Linked DNA regions of Homo sapiens: region 2 is linked to region 1. Evidence: promoter capture Hi-C in human tissues and cell types (Jung and others, 2019). All regions are on one chromosome and are shown on one strand. The core of a region is centred on a gene start or on the middle of the fragment in contact, and the rest is flanking DNA. Distances in the headings are between cores, read along the strand shown.

Region 1 (2,700 bases), core at 196-2,695:
TGGGGGAATAGCCCGAACTTTGTAAAAATAAATAAATAAATCATTTGATTATTTGCATTGCAAAATAATTCACTCTAGGGTTCCTCTGCGAGCCAGGCCACTTGGTTTTACAAACTGATTTGAGTATAAAGTCAGAGGCACCTAAGGCAAAGCAACTCACATCCTCAAAAACCTTCAAAGTCAAGTTCCCCTGGACACTCAAGGCAGGCCTCTCCCTGCTCATTGCCCTGAGCAGAGACGCTCATCTTCACAGAGGACAGAGGGCGTACTCAGCCTGATCCCTCACAGCAGCTCAGGGGACAGGCTCATCCTCCTAGCTCTCTGCTTCTCTAGGCATGGATCACACAGCAACCTCTACAGAGCCTTCTAGGCTCAGAATCTCCTGCTCATTGCACAGATGAGGAACTCAAGATGCCAAATATGGGAGAGTCTCATACCTGCCTTGACAGCAGCTTCCTTGGATGGCTCCTAGGAAAGCCCTCCCGGCAGACCACAGAGGAAGCCCCTCAGGGTACTGTTCCCAGTAGCAAGGATGCCCACCCACCAGTTATCCTGAGGAACAACAGCTGCCCACGTTCTCAGGTTAGTGTGGGCCAGGGCAGGAGCCAGCATGCCTTCCAGAATCATAGGCAATTTTGCTGACCTCAGTGTATCCGTCAGCATCTTGAGAACTGGCCACTCAACAGCTCACACCCAGCTTCCCGAAGCACAGTCTGGTAAAGGTTTATAGAGGAGAAAACCTTTTCATCCTCCTTGCACTGATTTGCATCATTCTCTTCTCATCATTGTGGCAGCAGGCATCCCATAAAAAGCAACAGGGCACCATGAGGAATGATTGGAAGAGCGATGGGGAACAAGCTCTTTTGCCTCTATTTGAGATGTCAGGCCTGGGATGGAGGTAAGTCGTGTTGTGGGCTCCTGGCAGTTTGTAACATAGGGTGCCCACCCGTGCATTGGAAAGTTCCAAGAAGTGTCCCTGCCATCTTGCAACCAAGGATGTTTTCTAAGTCTGCATGTGCCCCCTCCAACATCCAGAACACAGAGAGTTCCCAGATCAAATTATTAAGGCCTGCACTGAACAGAGCCAGTGTAGCCTGAGTCAGCCGGAGGGTCTGATCCACTCTTTGGCAACTCATCCCCACCACCATGGCCACTACACACCTCCACCAACCCAGAAACTCCAGGTCCTCTGATTTCTGAGCCTGGGTCAGGAGAAGCTGCCCTGCCCAGGCACCAACGGAACGCACGCCTCCATGAAACTTGAAGACAGACTGCAGAGAAGCATCATGAATTTTTCACAAGATTCATCTAATTGTGGCTGAGCAGAGCTGAGAAAGCCACAGTCCGAGGACCCATGCCAGCAGCTCACAAAGAGTTAACCCATTAGGCCATTGCCTGGTGAGCTCATCCATCCCTGCTGGAGCCTGCTCAGTTGCTGGGATTCACAACACACTGACTTCTGGACGTGGTCAGGGTGGCTTTCTCTGGCTGGCATGGACTTGAGCAGAAACTCATTGCCGGCTTCCTCCTTGCACGAGCACCAAGTGATTCCCAGGTCCCCCATCCTCCCCTGGGACATCGAGGACAGTAAGTAAGGAGGGAATGTTTCCTTCTGCCCTTCCTTCCATCTCGCTGAAGGAAGGAGCAGATTTTAACTTTGCTTTGGAGCGTGTTGTCTTTAAACTGGGGTTGGAAGGCAAGCATGAACAACAAGCGGAGAAAAGGGGGCTATGCCCTGGGAGGGGGTGAAGTCAGCCTGGAGGCACTGCCTGCTGAGGGTCTTGGCAGACAGTGGTGGCCAGAGGAAGGGGGGCCGCCCCTTGCTGTGTACTGGGAAGAAGGGAATTTGTGGGCAGAGAGCTGCTTCAGTCCTGCGTCTATAGCATCCAGCCTTCACTCTTAGCAGCCATTGTGGGAAGGGCTGGGCAGGGACTCTCCTCCCAAATCTAAGTGGAAGAAGCAAAAAAGCCAGACAGGAAAGTGCAAGGCCACCCCCAGACCCCAGAGTACATGGGTGGAATCTCGGACCCCAGCCGTCCTCCTGAGCACCCTGTGTCAGACCTCTGCAGCTGCCAATGTCTTCCTCCTGCAGCTGTGGCAGGTGTCTGGGGCAGGTGCCAGAAAAACAAGGTGGAGTGCGTTGGCTGCCTCGGGAGTTTTATCTCAGACAGGGGGAACAAGGCAGGCACATGCAAACACGGACAAAGACGTGGCTCAGTCAGGCAACTGTGTGCCGTGAGAACCCTGCATCCGGGTAAAGCCAGCCGTGGTCACACACGCAATCGCCCGAGCTATTTTTCTACCCTGTCACTGGCCAGGGTCTGGGCACCAGCCGGGTGGCCCAACAAGGGAGGTGGGTGGCACCCTCTAGGTTGACTGTGACCTTTGGGAAACTTCCCTTCCTAGAAGCGCTATGAGCAGGTGACAGATGGGTGGCCATGGCCATGGTGACAGCAGCGGCTTACTCAGAAACCCTCTAGCTTCTATTAGCCCAGACACTTGGCCCCCACTCACCTTATCAGAGGGGTGGACAGTCACCAACTGAATGTCCTGGTGAGGGGAAGACAGCACCGCCAGAGAAGATAAGGGACCGTGGGGATGACCACTGGCAAGCTGGAGCTGGGTGGGGCCTTAATGGGGACTCCGTGAGGGAAACAGGAGGACCCTCCACTTCTTACCACTCTGGGTCTTCCACAGGAA
Region 2 (2,700 bases), core at 163-2,662, 440 kb before region 1:
CCAGGCTCTTGTGGACCCCCGTTTTCCATCCTCCAGGAGTACCCTCCACTCTCCTCCTCGCCCATTCAATCTTACCTGCCCTTCAAGCACTTGGTGATGATCACTCCGACCACACAACCTCCCTCTGAGCGTTCTGAGCATGTGGCCTATAATTCTGGAGGGGCACCTGTAGAGTCAATTATTTTCTTGTATTGTCTCGTCTTTCTGCTCCTGGAGTTAAGCCCCTGAGGCCAGGACTGTGTCTAATCCACCTTTCAGCTCCTGTAGGCCCTAACGAAGTGTTCAGTACACAGTTGGTGTGGCACATCTAGCTACGGATGCCGTCTCCTCCTCCATCTTTGGTTTCCCAAATAGCCTTTACTCTGTAGGCAACGGACATTAAGCCCATGAGGAAAAGACCGCTAAAGGCCACTCAGATGGAGGCTGGGCTCTCCCTCCTGGTGAGAGCTCCACGCTCCACATCCCTGGGGGCCAGGAGCATATGGCTGCTCTCCCTCACTTCCTGCTGCTCAGGGCCGCCCTTGCCCAGCACCCTCTCGCTCCTGTCACTGCACCGCGCTCTGTTGCTTCCTTCGTTTTGCCAACTCATGGAGGTAATTGCGAATTCTAACCCTGTCCTCCGTGCTTTGGCTTTCCCTCTGACCGGCACCTCATTTTGGGAACAGCCCGGCCATATTCTAAATCCTCTGGCTCCCTGGGTGTAGGGGTGAGTGATTAGTGAGCCAGCTCCGTGGTTCTCCTTTCTCCCCCGGCCACGTGGGGAAAGTAGGCTCTCTCTGTCCCCAATTCGGGCTGCCTCCTTGATGGGAGGGGCAGGGGATGGGTCCTTTCTGGCCAAGCCTGTGCAGCCACCAGGCAGGACGAAGCCCTAAGGGTGGGACAAGTTGGGCACAGCTGGTCCCATCATCACAAGGGCAGCTCCTCTGGCTTCTGGAAAGCTTTGCTTCTGGGCACACCTGTCCTTAAGGCAATCCTATGCTGAGAAAAGCCACTTATGTCCCAGGAGAAGAACACAGGTGCTTAGCACTCCCTTCCTGAATGGCATAAAATGATGCGCTTCCTCGCAGGACAAGCCTGGCACTGAGAACAGAATGGTGATTTGGCCATAAGTTTCGCCTGGGCTCTGACCCTGGGTCACAGAATCCCAAGAGAAGTGCAGCCAGTGAGAGAGTGAGTCCTGGACACTGGGCTGCCTAGGTCAGACCACACCCTGACATCGACAAGCCCTGCGCCTGCGGGCAGGCTGCCCATCACTCCATGTCGCTGTAGCCTCCTATCTACTGGGAGGGGGACACTGCCTACACGAGGACTATGATAATGAAGGCTCCTAGCCCAGGGCGTGGACAGTCAGCCCTCAACAAATCCCAGCTACTGTTTCTATTATGACACACGAAAAGTAGGACCTTGGAAGTTGCTAGGCCAGCCTTCCTCTCAAGCTGGAAATGCCCAAGTTGCTCCTCTCCTTTGCTTAAAATCATCACGGAGTGAGCAGCTCGTTGCATGGCAAGGTGGTCCGACCTGGAGCAGAGGGGCTCACATCAGGAGAACGCCTGCCCTTGTGCTGAGCAAGCAGTGGCCTCCTCTGGTGTCCTCCCCACAGCCCTAGATCCATGCACTGGGACAAATGAGAAGTGTAGACACACGGCTTCAGAACAGGATTCACGTAGCTGGAGGGGGCTCCCGGGGCCCTGTCTGTACCTCTGGTCAATTTGACCTCAGGGCTTGAGCTCTAGGGTCTGTGTTTAGCGCCCAGATCAGTCAGCACCCCCTCCTGGCTGTGTGACCTTGGTTAAGCTTCTAATCCCCATTGAACCTGTTTCCTCATCTATGAAGTGGGCATTATAATGGTACCTGCCTCATGGGCTTGTTACAAGAATTAGATAGGTCAGTCCATGGAAAGCATTTTAAAAGTACTGTTAGTTGCTAATATGATTTGAAGAACAGCGTTCTCCAGCTTTCCTGGGAGCCGTATCACTCTCTCTGGCAGGCCAGGGGCACGAGTGTCTACAACAAGACACAGGAACTCAGGCATCACACTCCAGCCATGAAAACAGCTGGCATGCCACCACCTTGGATCTGGATTCCAGGTTGTTTCAAAGCAGTCTAAAGACATAGCTGTTTCCAGACATCTCAACTTGCTCTGTTCTTTCATCCTAAACCTTCGTGACTCTGCCATATGACCTACTGTTCCCCGTGGGACTTACTGGGACTTCTGACCCAAATATGGGGTTCACATCATTGCTAGTCACTTTGTGAGTACTTACTGGACAGCTTGAGTATGCCAGGCTCTGAGCCAGGGATTAGAGATTGTCAGGTGAGCTATGCTGATACCAGACACACCTTAGAGAAACCAGACAGCCCAGAGGTGGTTAAGTCAATCTTCACAACACAAGTAGGAGAGTTTATACCCAGTTTACAGATCAGGAAACTGAAGCACGGAAGGTTAAGTAAAGTGATCAAGCCCTACTTCCAGCTAGTGAAGGCAGAGCGGGGTTCCAAACTGGGGCCAACAGTCCTAGTCAGCCCGCTCCACTGCCTCTCTGCAAGGACGGAGGAGCCCAGGATGCCACCAAGGACCAGTGGAGAAAGGCCCCCGGGCAGGGAGCCAGGGAAGTGAGAGCCACGCGGGAGCCTGGGAGATAAGGAAGAGCAGGCTAGGCTGAGGGAAAGTGAACGAAAAGAGAACATTCCAGACCAAGC

The links. Contacts are between HindIII fragments. The study calls those that stand out against the background at their distance.
Region 2: a contact is called between a fragment that was not itself captured here and the fragment with the promoter of PIRT in region 1, in 2 of the 25 tissues and cell types used here (H1 embryonic stem cells and dorsolateral prefrontal cortex).

The regions. Positions count from the first base shown.
Region 1 is chr17:10,836,832-10,839,531 of GRCh38, reverse strand. It overlaps PIRT (phosphoinositide interacting regulator of transient receptor potential channels), which reads left to right and starts at 1,445. Exons shown (of 2, transcript NM_001101387.2): 1 at 1,445-1,587. RefSeq lists a silencer at 212-436 and an enhancer at 2,133-2,634. The HindIII fragment of the contact is 18,169 bases long and covers 1-2,700 here.
Region 2 is chr17:11,272,271-11,274,970 of GRCh38, reverse strand. The region is part of intron 2 of SHISA6 (shisa family member 6); the gene reads right to left. Among named protein-coding and RNA genes, the nearest start is that of SHISA6, 32 kb to the right of the region's middle. RefSeq lists an enhancer at 684-1,185. The HindIII fragment of the contact is 5,649 bases long and covers 1-2,700 here.